Regions from separate parts of the Homo sapiens genome. Here regions 1 and 3 are each linked to region 2. The links are contacts of gene promoters, found by promoter capture Hi-C in human tissues and cell types (Jung and others, 2019). All regions are on one chromosome and are shown on one strand. Each heading gives the region's core, a stretch centred on a gene start or on the middle of the fragment in contact. The rest is flanking DNA. Distances are from core to core; before and after follow the strand shown.

What was found. Contacts are between HindIII fragments. The study calls those that stand out against the background at their distance.
Region 1: a contact is called between a fragment that was not itself captured here and the fragment with the promoter of SGSM3 in region 2, in 2 of the 25 tissues and cell types used here (IMR-90 fibroblasts and pancreas).
Region 3: a contact is called between a fragment that was not itself captured here and the fragment with the promoter of SGSM3 in region 2, in 6 of the 25 tissues and cell types used here (H1 embryonic stem cells, IMR-90 fibroblasts, dorsolateral prefrontal cortex and 3 more).

Annotation. Positions count from the first base shown.
Region 1 is chr22:40,259,605-40,262,899 of GRCh38, reverse strand. It overlaps TNRC6B (trinucleotide repeat containing adaptor 6B), which reads right to left. Exons shown (of 23, transcript NM_001162501.2): 4 at 727-1,068. LOC124905121 (a long non-coding RNA gene) reads left to right here. Exons shown (of 2, transcript XR_007068107.1): 2 at 2,532-3,295. Among named protein-coding and RNA genes, the nearest start is that of TNRC6B, 83 kb to the right of the region's middle. The HindIII fragment of the contact is 8,779 bases long and covers 1-3,295 here.
Region 2 is chr22:40,369,244-40,372,477 of GRCh38, reverse strand. SGSM3 (small G protein signaling modulator 3) reads right to left here and starts at 1,884. Exons shown (of 22, transcript NM_015705.6): 1 at 1,790-1,884. ADSL (adenylosuccinate lyase) reads right to left here. Exons shown (of 13, transcript NM_000026.4): 13 at 3,111-3,234. RefSeq lists silencers at 1,499-1,668, 1,729-1,838 and an enhancer at 1,989-2,198. The HindIII fragment of the contact is 4,461 bases long and covers 1-3,234 here.
Region 3 is chr22:40,298,284-40,301,633 of GRCh38, reverse strand. TNRC6B (trinucleotide repeat containing adaptor 6B) reads right to left here. Exons shown (of 23, transcript NM_001162501.2): 13 at 1,048-1,179; 14 at 629-724; 15 at 301-484. Among named protein-coding and RNA genes, the nearest start is that of ADSL, 47 kb to the left of the region's middle. The HindIII fragment of the contact is 7,080 bases long and covers 1-3,350 here.

The DNA of each region.
Region 1 (3,295 bases), core at 409-2,908, 110 kb after region 2:
CCTGGCTAATTTTTTTATATTTTTAGTAGAGACAGGGTTTCACCATGTTAGCCAGGGTGGTCTCGATCTCCTGACCTGGTGATCCACCCGCCTCGGCCTCCCAAAGTGCTGGGATTACAGGCGTGAGCCACCGTGCCCGGCCAAAAACTCTCAAAACTTCTAGTAGAACCTTTCAGCTAAATATCCCTTATTTCTACATACAGTTTTTAACAAAGCTCAAAATCCAGGGCCCACAAAAAGAAATACTGAGTTTAAAAATCTAATTTAAAAACTATAGTATTATTTTAGAATCCTCCGAAGATTCTATATTGCAATGTAGCAAATCATTTTCTCTATCCTCCTAGCATTCTGGAAACATAACACAGGCATCTAAAGATTCGCCTTCGCACAAGCCCCATGTCCAATTATGCCCTGAACACATATGACGGTGGAACTATGGAGGCTCAAATTTGTAACACTCTAGTCTGAGAAGGAAAAAAGGCCCCCAAAATAATAAGCAACAGCAGTTAAGTTAGCCCTTATGCCAAGAGCACACACTTACGGAACACTAAACCTCAGTTCCAAGAATCACCAATACACATCGCATACTAGGATCCTCTCTCATCTTTTGACTAATCCCAGTGGTTTATATAATGAATGGCTTTCCTGGACTTTACATCAAGCAATGCAAACAAAGTGCTCTCTCTCTGTCAAGCTGCCATGCATTCGATTCACAGGGTGCCTTACCTGGCGCAGTCCCACTCTCACTCTGCAGCAGCGCTCCTGTCACTTGTGCGTTGTTTGGGTTTGCTCCAGGTGCTGTGCAGGGAGGAGGCCCTGCCCCACCCCCAAGGAGCATGCAGGACGGTGGAGGGGGCTGCCCACGTTTTAGTAACACTTTGTGGTCCTGCTGGCAACGGAATCGCGGCGGCACCTCCCGAGGCATGTAGCGGGCGGCGCTTGGCGGTTGTCCGTTCGGCACTGCCACCCTTTTGGCATTGTTGCCACCATTGACTGGTGGCGATGGAGAGCTGCCAATTGGGCTGGCGGCCGTTGGTTGGCTTAAACTTGGTTTCGTCACTTCGGGCACTAAAAGAGAGGGGTTGGGAAACAGTCTTTGAAATACATCAAATACATTTTTTCTAAAAATTTTAAAAATAATTTTATTATTTTATTTAGAGATGGGGTCTTGCCATGTTGCCCATGCTGGTCTTGAACTCGGGCTCAAGGGACTCTCCCACCTTGGCTTTCCAAAGTGCTAGAATTACAAGAGTGAGCCACTGTGCCTGGCCAAGATTATTATTTATTTATTTATTTATTTATTTTTGAGACGGAGTCTCACACTGTCACCCAGTGTGAGTGTCGCCCAGGCTGGAGTGCAGTGGTGCAATCTCCGCTCACTGCAACCTCCGCCTCCCAGGTTCAAGCAATTCTCCTGCCTCAGCCTCCCAAGTAGCTCGGATTACAGGCGCCCACCACCAAAACCAGCTAATTTTTTGTATTTTTAGTACAGACAGGTTTTCACTATGTTGACCAGGCTGGTCTTGAACTCCTGACCTCATGATCCGCCTGCCTTGGCCTCCCAAAGTGTTGAGATTACAGGCATGAGCCACTGCACCCAGCCTATTTTTTATTTTTTTGAGATGAGGTCTTGCTGTATAACTCGGGCTGGAGTGCAGTGATCTTGGCTTGCTGCAACTTCTACCTCCAGGGCTCAAGTGATCCTCCCACCTCAGCCTCTTGAGTAGCTGGGACTACAATGCATACACCACTATGCCCAACTAATTTTTTTTTCCTCCTCTAGAGACAGGGTTTTGCCATGTTGCCTACCTAGACTGGTCTCGAACTCCTGAACTCAAGCTATTTACCCACCTCGGCCTCCCAAAGTGCTGGGATTACAGGTGTGAGCCACCACACCCAGACCCTGGCTAAGATTATTTGTAAGAAAGCTTACATGGTACCAATTCTAACAAAGTAACTTCTCCTTTTACTCTACTCTCAAGGGAAACAGTTTTTCCAAATTCTCCACAATCTCTCCAGTTTGCTGAAGGTAGGATGAAGGTGGCGGCTGACAGTGACAAGAATTTAAACACAGCAAGGTCATGGAATACATTCCATTAATTAAGGCGGAGAGGGAAGCAATCAACATTCACTCCCCTAAATCAACAGTGGAATTAATTCCCTGAAGTGCTGCCTAGAAGAGTTAAATGTCCATGGCAAAGTCCTTGGGAAAGGTTTCAAGCCTCAGTCCAAGGGTCCCTTCCCTTCATCCACATTCTTAAAAGATCTACCCCTGAGTAAACTTTATTGAAGCCCCTGGCCTAGATGGGCTAAACATTCTTCCTAAGTGCTCCTGGAACACATCATCCATCTCTCTCTACCATGAAAATTCTCCATTCAAAAATCCATCTATCTCTACCACCGAAATTCTCCATCTACAAGTCCCATCTCTCTCTATCACAGAAATTCTCCATTTACAAGTCCTTCTCCCTCACCAGGCCATGACTTCCTGAGGGCAAGGACCCATCTTTCATCTTTTCTTTCTTCCTTAGGGCATGGCACAGAGTGGACTCTTACAAGAAACTCCAGGCCTAGAAAATCACAAACTCAGCTTGGTTCTGGTTTCTACAGCTACCTGGACTCAAAGACTTGCACCGCTCTCTGTGTAAATACTAGAAATGTTACAAATCTTTTTGCTTTTCTTTAAAAAAAAAAAAAAGTGTTTCTTCCCAATTCTTTAAAATAGAAATTTCAAAATGTAAATACTTTTTCTGTTTACTTTAAATCATTTGATTTTTTTAAACTTAATTTTAAAAATGGCCCGCACACAGCGTGGGAATGTCGGGGCAACCGTGAAACCGCACTCTGCCGGACCCTCTGGCTCTTCCCGTCGAACATACAGAGAAGGCTCTCTTAGATCTGTACCTCCCTCGCTGCATGCTGCCAGAAGATCACTACCCTCTCCATAAAAATCTACCTGGCAAATAGAGGCTGGAAGTCGTACAGAAATAATCATCAAGCCTGACAGTTCGGATGATTCTGAGGCCCAAATCCCTGCCTCCCAGGGTAACGTCAGGGCCAACTCTGGGGGTAGTACTGCTTTGACTGCTAAAATGATGCGGGGCCAGCATGTTGCTTGCTGAACTGGCTCCTTTATGAGAGAGATACATCATCAGAAATCAGGCGGCCCAATCTATGCCACTACTGGACATTAACATACTGTGGGTGACAGGAGAAAAGAGCAGGTGCCTGCAGCAATTTCCAGGTAACCCCATGTCTAACCTCAGCTAATCACAAGGCAGCACCAGGCCTCCCA
Region 2 (3,234 bases), core at 635-3,134:
CACCCTCTCCCCTCCCAGACCACACACCTCCACGCTTAAAAAGGGACAGGGAGGGCCAGGCACGGTGGCTCACGCCTGTAATCCCAGCACTTTGGGAGGCCGAGGCGGGCAGATCACGAGGTCAGGAGATCGAGACCATCTGGCTAACACGGTGAAACCCCGTCTCTACTAAAAATACAAAAAATTATCCGGGTGTGGTGGCGGGCACCTATAGTCCCAGCTACTCGGGAGGCTGAGGCAGGAGAATGGCGTGAACCCGGGAGGCAGAGCTTGCAGTGAGCCGAGATCGCGCCACTGCACTCCAGCCTGGGCAACAGAGCGAGACTCCGTCTCAAAAAAAAAAAAAAAAAAAAAAGGGGGGGGGGACAGGGAGAAGAACTAAAGCTCAGGCTACTATGATAATTAGGGATGAAAAAGCTACATTCACTTAGGATTATCAAAAGCCAGGAAAGATATCTATAGAATTACAAATTAATCGGGCCTGGCGCAGTGGCTCACGCCTGTAATCCCAGCACTTTGGGAGGCCCGAGACGGGCGGATCACCTGTGGTCAGGAGTTCGAGACCAGCCTGGCCAACATGGCGAAAAACCCCGTCTCTATTAAAAATACACAAATTAGCCGGGCGTGGTGGCGGGCGCCTGTAATCCCAGCTACTCGGTAGGCTGAGGCAGGAGAATCACTTGAATCCGGGAGGCGGAGCTTGCAGTGAGCCGAGATCATGTCATTGCACTCCAGCCCGGGCAAGAGCGAAACTCCCGTCTTAAAAAAAAAATAGAAAAGAAAAGAAAAGAAGAATTACAAATTAATCACCAAGAACAGAAATAGTGTAAAAACAAAGATGTAATTCAACTGTTTAGAGTGCAGAGATAATTGGAACTAAAAGAGCAAGAAAAGCGGGAAACATATGTACCTATAAACCTAATCACAAACCTGTCACAAAAACTACGAGTAAACGAGTCGAAGTTGAAAATGAGTTTTTGTGAATCAGAGTCTGATTTGACTTGAATTTACTAAGAAAGAATAAGAAAGGTGTAGAACATTCCAGGACATCTCTATCCCACCGCAAAACAAAAAAGAGCCATCAACCCACCACAAACGTGCAGCGTGAGACTGGAAGATACACTAGTCACCCAGTCACTGAAAACAACCTTTGAAACATCTTTATTTTTCTTTCCAAATAAAAAAGAGCCTAGGTCAGTAAACTAAGTATGAGAATAATTTTCAAAATTCCAGTCCTAACCACACCGGATGATTCTGGCTAACGTATGCCTCAGTTTCCCCCGTGCTAAAATGCAAACACACCGGTGTTCCGAGTCTCGGGCCTGGATCCGAGCCCGGGTTCTGCACCTGGATCTGAATCTTAAAGGGAAAACCGCAAGTTAAACCTGAGGAGGAGTCTGCAGCTGTCCCGGTGCCAGAGCCAGCCAGGCTCTTTTTAGAAAGCCCCCCGCCTCAGGCGCGGTTTTCGTAAAACCGCTCCCGGCTGCCAGCGCGGTGGATTCCGGCTGGCGCCCCGAACACCTGAGGTGGCCTCGGCCGTCTAGGGGCGGCCGCACCGGAGGACGCAGCCGACCTCCCCGCCCCGCCGCGTCCCCGGCCCCCATTCCAACGGCGACGCGAGCAAGGTCGGCCCGGCGGCTCTCCGGCCCGAGGCGGTGCTTCTCTCGTGGGCGCCTTCGGCCCATACGACCCTCGGTCGGACAGTCCGACCACAGCCGCCCCGCAGCCCCCGCCTGAGGGGAACTTGTAGGCGCCGGTGGGTCTCCGCTGACTCCCGCCCCGCACTCACCTGCCCCACGGGCCACCTCAGCGCCAATCCGGGTCGGGTTAGCAGCTTCCCCACTCGCACCCAGTCAGCGCTCAGCGGCGCCTAAGCGCACGCGTGGCGGGGCGTGGCATGGGCGGCCGCGGGTCATGCTGGGGGCTGTAGTCGTTCCCGCCCACTAGGCGGGGCGCGTCCAGGGGCTTTGCGCCCCCATCCCAAGGCCAGCATGCATAGCGATGATTTCTTCGTCTGCACCGCAGCCTGAGAAGCTTGGGACAGTATGGTGTGGACCAGCAGTCAGGGTGGTGGGAGATAGACGCTGCAAATAACTTGCTAATTTTTTTTTTTTTTTTTTTTTGAGATGGAGTCTCGCTCTGTCACCCAGGCTGAAGTGCAGTGGCGTGATCTCGGCTCACTGCAACCTCCACCTCCCAGGTTCAATCAGTTCTCTGCCTCAGCCTCCCGAGTAGCTGGGATTACAGGCGCCCGCCACCACGCCCAGCTAATTTTTTTGTATTTTTAGTACAGTATTTTTAGTAGAGACGGGGTTTCACCATGTTGGCCAGGCTGGTCTCGAACTCCTGACCTCAGATGATCTGCCCGCTTCAGCCTCCCAAAGTGCTGGGATTACAGGCGTGAGCCACCGCGCCAGGCCGGAAAACGAAATTTTCTGAGTACCTTCTGTGTCAGATTCTATGCTGTGCAATTCCCATCTCACCAACCCTCACATCCACCTAGGCTTCATATCACCTTTCTAGGGACTCCTAACCCTCGTGCTTCCACTAAAGCTGTGTTTACAAACATCAGGCTCTCCTGGTTCTTAAATGAAACTGAGCATCAGCCAGGGAAAGAGGGCATTAAGTGTCCAGGTGTCTGACTTCAGCTGAGCAGACATTTCATCAGTTGCCCCAAGTTCTGCCCAGAACCTGACATCTGGGTAGTTCTGATGCTGGAGTCCGTGTGAATTTAAACCAATCTTAAAGAAAATACAACAGCCTGGGTTAACAGAGTGAGACCCTGTCTCTACAAAAAACAACAAAAAATGAACCACGTGTGGTTGTGTGTGCCATAGTCCCAGCTACTCAAGAGGCTGAGGTGAGAGGATCGCTTGAGCCCAGGAAATCAAGGCTGCAGTGAACTGTGGTCATGCCACTGCACTCCAGCTTGGGCGACAGAGCAAGATCTTGTCTATATATATATATAAAAGATAGATATATGAATGTATATTATATATAATATATATGAATGTATATTATATATAATATATATGAATGTATATTTTATATATATACATAAATGTACATTTAATATATATATGTTTTCCAGTGAACACGCAGACCACCCATCAAATTAAAATGTTACATGGGAAAATCAGATTACAAAGTTGCATACAAGTATGTAAATACAAAAATAAAGGAGAATGGAAAAGGAAAGAAGACAAGAGATGCACCAACAAATCCACCCATTCA
Region 3 (3,350 bases), core at 386-2,885, 71 kb after region 2:
AGCCTTTACTGTGTTAAATAAAATAAACCAGACACACACACACACACAAAAAAAAGGAAGACTGCTTTGGAGCCAGAGAAGTTAGAGGCCTGGCTCTGCTATTTAGTAACCATGTGGTGAGCTCTGGAAACCCACTGAAACTCAAGAAGCCTCAGATGTCTCATCTGTAAACCAGGGATAAGAATATTTACCTACCTTGTACAGCTGACATAAAAAAGGAGGGTAATGCAGGTGCAACCCCTACCACAGGCCTAGAGAGGTAGATTTCTAAAAAGGTAATTTTCTCTACCAACAACTTACCAGAACCATATCCAGGTATTGGCCCTTTGGTTTGAAGGTCTGGGAGCCCCACATTCAATGCGTTGGGTACCATGTTGTCCAGATGCGGCTTGGGCCCAACAGGATGAGAGGGCGAGTGCTTCATGCCTGGCTGCCTCTGCTGCTGCTGCTGCTGCTGCTGCAGTGCACTCACCATTCGAGCCAGCTGAGGGCCAAGAGAGACAGACACGTGATAAGCACGGCCCCGAACTTCCCAGGAAAAGACTGTGCCCGGTTCTTTGCCATCAGAGGCTAAGCCGGGATGTACTCCTCCAACACAGCACTGGAGGGACCCTGCCTACCCACGTACCTGCTGCTCTTGCTGTTGGCGTACAGCTTGAGAAATCTTTCTCTGGTTCTGTAACAACTGCTGCTGTTGCTGCTGCTGCAAGAGAAGCTGACATGCCTACAAAACAAGGGGGAAAGACAGAAAACCAAAGTTTCCTGAGATTGATTTACTGAGGACACCTAAAGGGTCTGTGCACTGAAGTACAGGTCACACAATCAAAAGTATCCAGGAGGGAAGTAACACCAAATTCCCGGTCTCTTGGTTACATTTTCCTCCAGTTGAGCTGACAACCCTTAAGCACACTCCATAGTTTGCAAAGAAGTGTGGACTAGCACCCTTTGAACATAGAAAGTGGCAAAGATGTGGGAAGCAAATCAAAGCTAAAGAAAAAAAAAAAGCAAATGACCTTTTTAGCCACAGGAAGAAAATCTTCTACTTACCAACTGAAACTGGGGAATTTGTGGAAGCTGGCTCAGCATGGCAATTTGTTGAGGAGATAACTGGGGCCCCACATTGAAAAGACCTGGACTCAGGCCACTGTTGGGAAACTGCTTGAGCATTGAGGCAGAAACCTAGCCAAAAAAATAAAAAAGAAAGAAAAGAAAAGGAATCTTCAGAATTTATCAAAATAAAACTGTTTTTCTGTGAAAAGAATCTTGATGAATCTAAAGCAAGAGTTGTCAAACTTTTCTGTGAAAAATATATAACAGGAAAAATACACTCAAGGGTTAACAATGATTATCTTGGAGCAGTGAGATTACAACAGTTTTTAAATTTTCTTCTTAGACTTTCCAATTTTCTACAATAAAAAGTATAAATTTTATATTCAGGAAAACATCTTCAAGAAAAAAAAATTGATGACAATATGGCTTTTATCCAACCAAGAAATTATTACTGGAAATGTGCCATAAAACAAAACATGCTACATTGCATAAAGCTAATAAATAATACTTACGTGAAAGTATTTCTGTGCTACAAGTAAGACAAATATATTAACTTGTAAATAGAAGACATGAGTTTCAATGCATGGCTTCTGATAGCAAACACCCACAGAGTGGCAGTGTAAAAAAAGAGCCAGCATCAAAGAGCCTGGAAGGTCACTGACCCGGCAGGGTCCTTCTCCCTGTTCTCAGGAGTGAGCTAGGCGAGGCTGCAGGAAGCTCTGGCGACAGAGGATTCCCTCCTATCTTTGGTTTGCTCCTCTAAGATGATTTAAGTAAGAAGAAGTGAGTTTCCCTGCACCCTCATCTACTGAACCCACTGGACTAGTTGGGGCCATGGAGAACAAGCTTAAGAACGTGTCCGTGAGTGCCAAGTAGTGTAGCACAATGGCCAAGAATTTAGTCCTAGAGGCTGGGCACAGTGGCTCACACCTGTAATCCCAGCAGTTTGGGGGACTAGCTTGTGCCTAGGAGATTGAGAACACCTGGGCAACATAGCGAGCTATCATCTCTTTAAAAAAATAAAAAGGTTAAAAAAAGACTTTAGAGCTGGGTGTGGTGGCTCACGCCTGTAATCCCAGCACTTCAGGAGGCTGAGGTGGGTGGATTACCTGAGGTCAAGAGTTCAAGACCAGCCTGACCAACATGCAGAAACCCCGTCTCTACTAAAAATACAAAATTAGCTGGGTGTGATGGCGCATGCCTGTAATCCCAGCTACTAGGGAGGCTGAGGCAGGAGAATTGCCTCAAGCTGGGAGGCGGAGGTTGTGGTGAGCCAAGATGGTGCCATTGCACTCCAGCATGGGCAACAAGAGTGAAATTCCATCTCAAAAAAAAAAAAAAAAGACTTTAGTTCTAGAGGCAGACTGCCTGGGTTTGTAATCCCAGCTCTGCCTGCCTCCCCAGTTTTGTTTTTTTTTTTTTTTTGTTTTTTTTTTTTTGAGACAGGGTCTCACTCTGTCACCCAGGCTGGAATGCAGTGGCGTGATCATGGCTCACTGCAGCCTTGACCTCCCGGCTGGTCTCAAACTCCTGGGCTCAAGCCATCCTCTCAAAGTGTTGTGATTACAAGTATGAGCCACCGCTCCCAACCCAGCTCTGCCATTTCTTTTTTTTTTTTGAGACGGAGTCTCGCTCTTTCACCCAGGCTGGAGTGCAGTGGCGCTATCTTGGCTCACTGCAAGCTCCACCTCCTGGGTTCACGCCATTCTCCTGCCTCAGCCTCCCGAGTAGCTGGGACTACAGGCGCCCGCCACTGCGCCCGGCTAATTTTTGGTATTTTTAGTAGAGACGGGGTTTCACCGTGTTAGCCAGGATGGTCTCAATCTCCTGACCTCATGATCCGCCCGCCTCGGCCTCCCAAAGTGCTGAGATTACAGGCGTGAGCCACCGCGCCCGGCCCCAGCTCTGCCATTTCTAAGCTGACTCAGAGCAAGTTACTCATTTAGCCTTTCTGACCCTTACTTTCCTGATCTCCAACTGGAATGACAACAATATTAACTTCAGTCATTATTAGATTTTATGAGTTAATCAATGTCAAATGCTTAGAGATGTCCTCCATAAATGTTCACATTATTCCACAGGCTGATTCTTCAAATGTCTTCAGACAATGATTACAGTTCCCTTGCATCTCATCTTCAGGCTCAATATGATCAGTTCTTTCACCTGTATCTCCTTCCATTTCTTGGTGAAGAGCCAAGAACAGAAAGGTATTTTCTAGAGTAGTCTAACACCAAGTAGACCCTAAGCATTCTGTTAAAAGCTGTGCTTTCATGAACAATGCCTAAGATGTCAATTTCTCT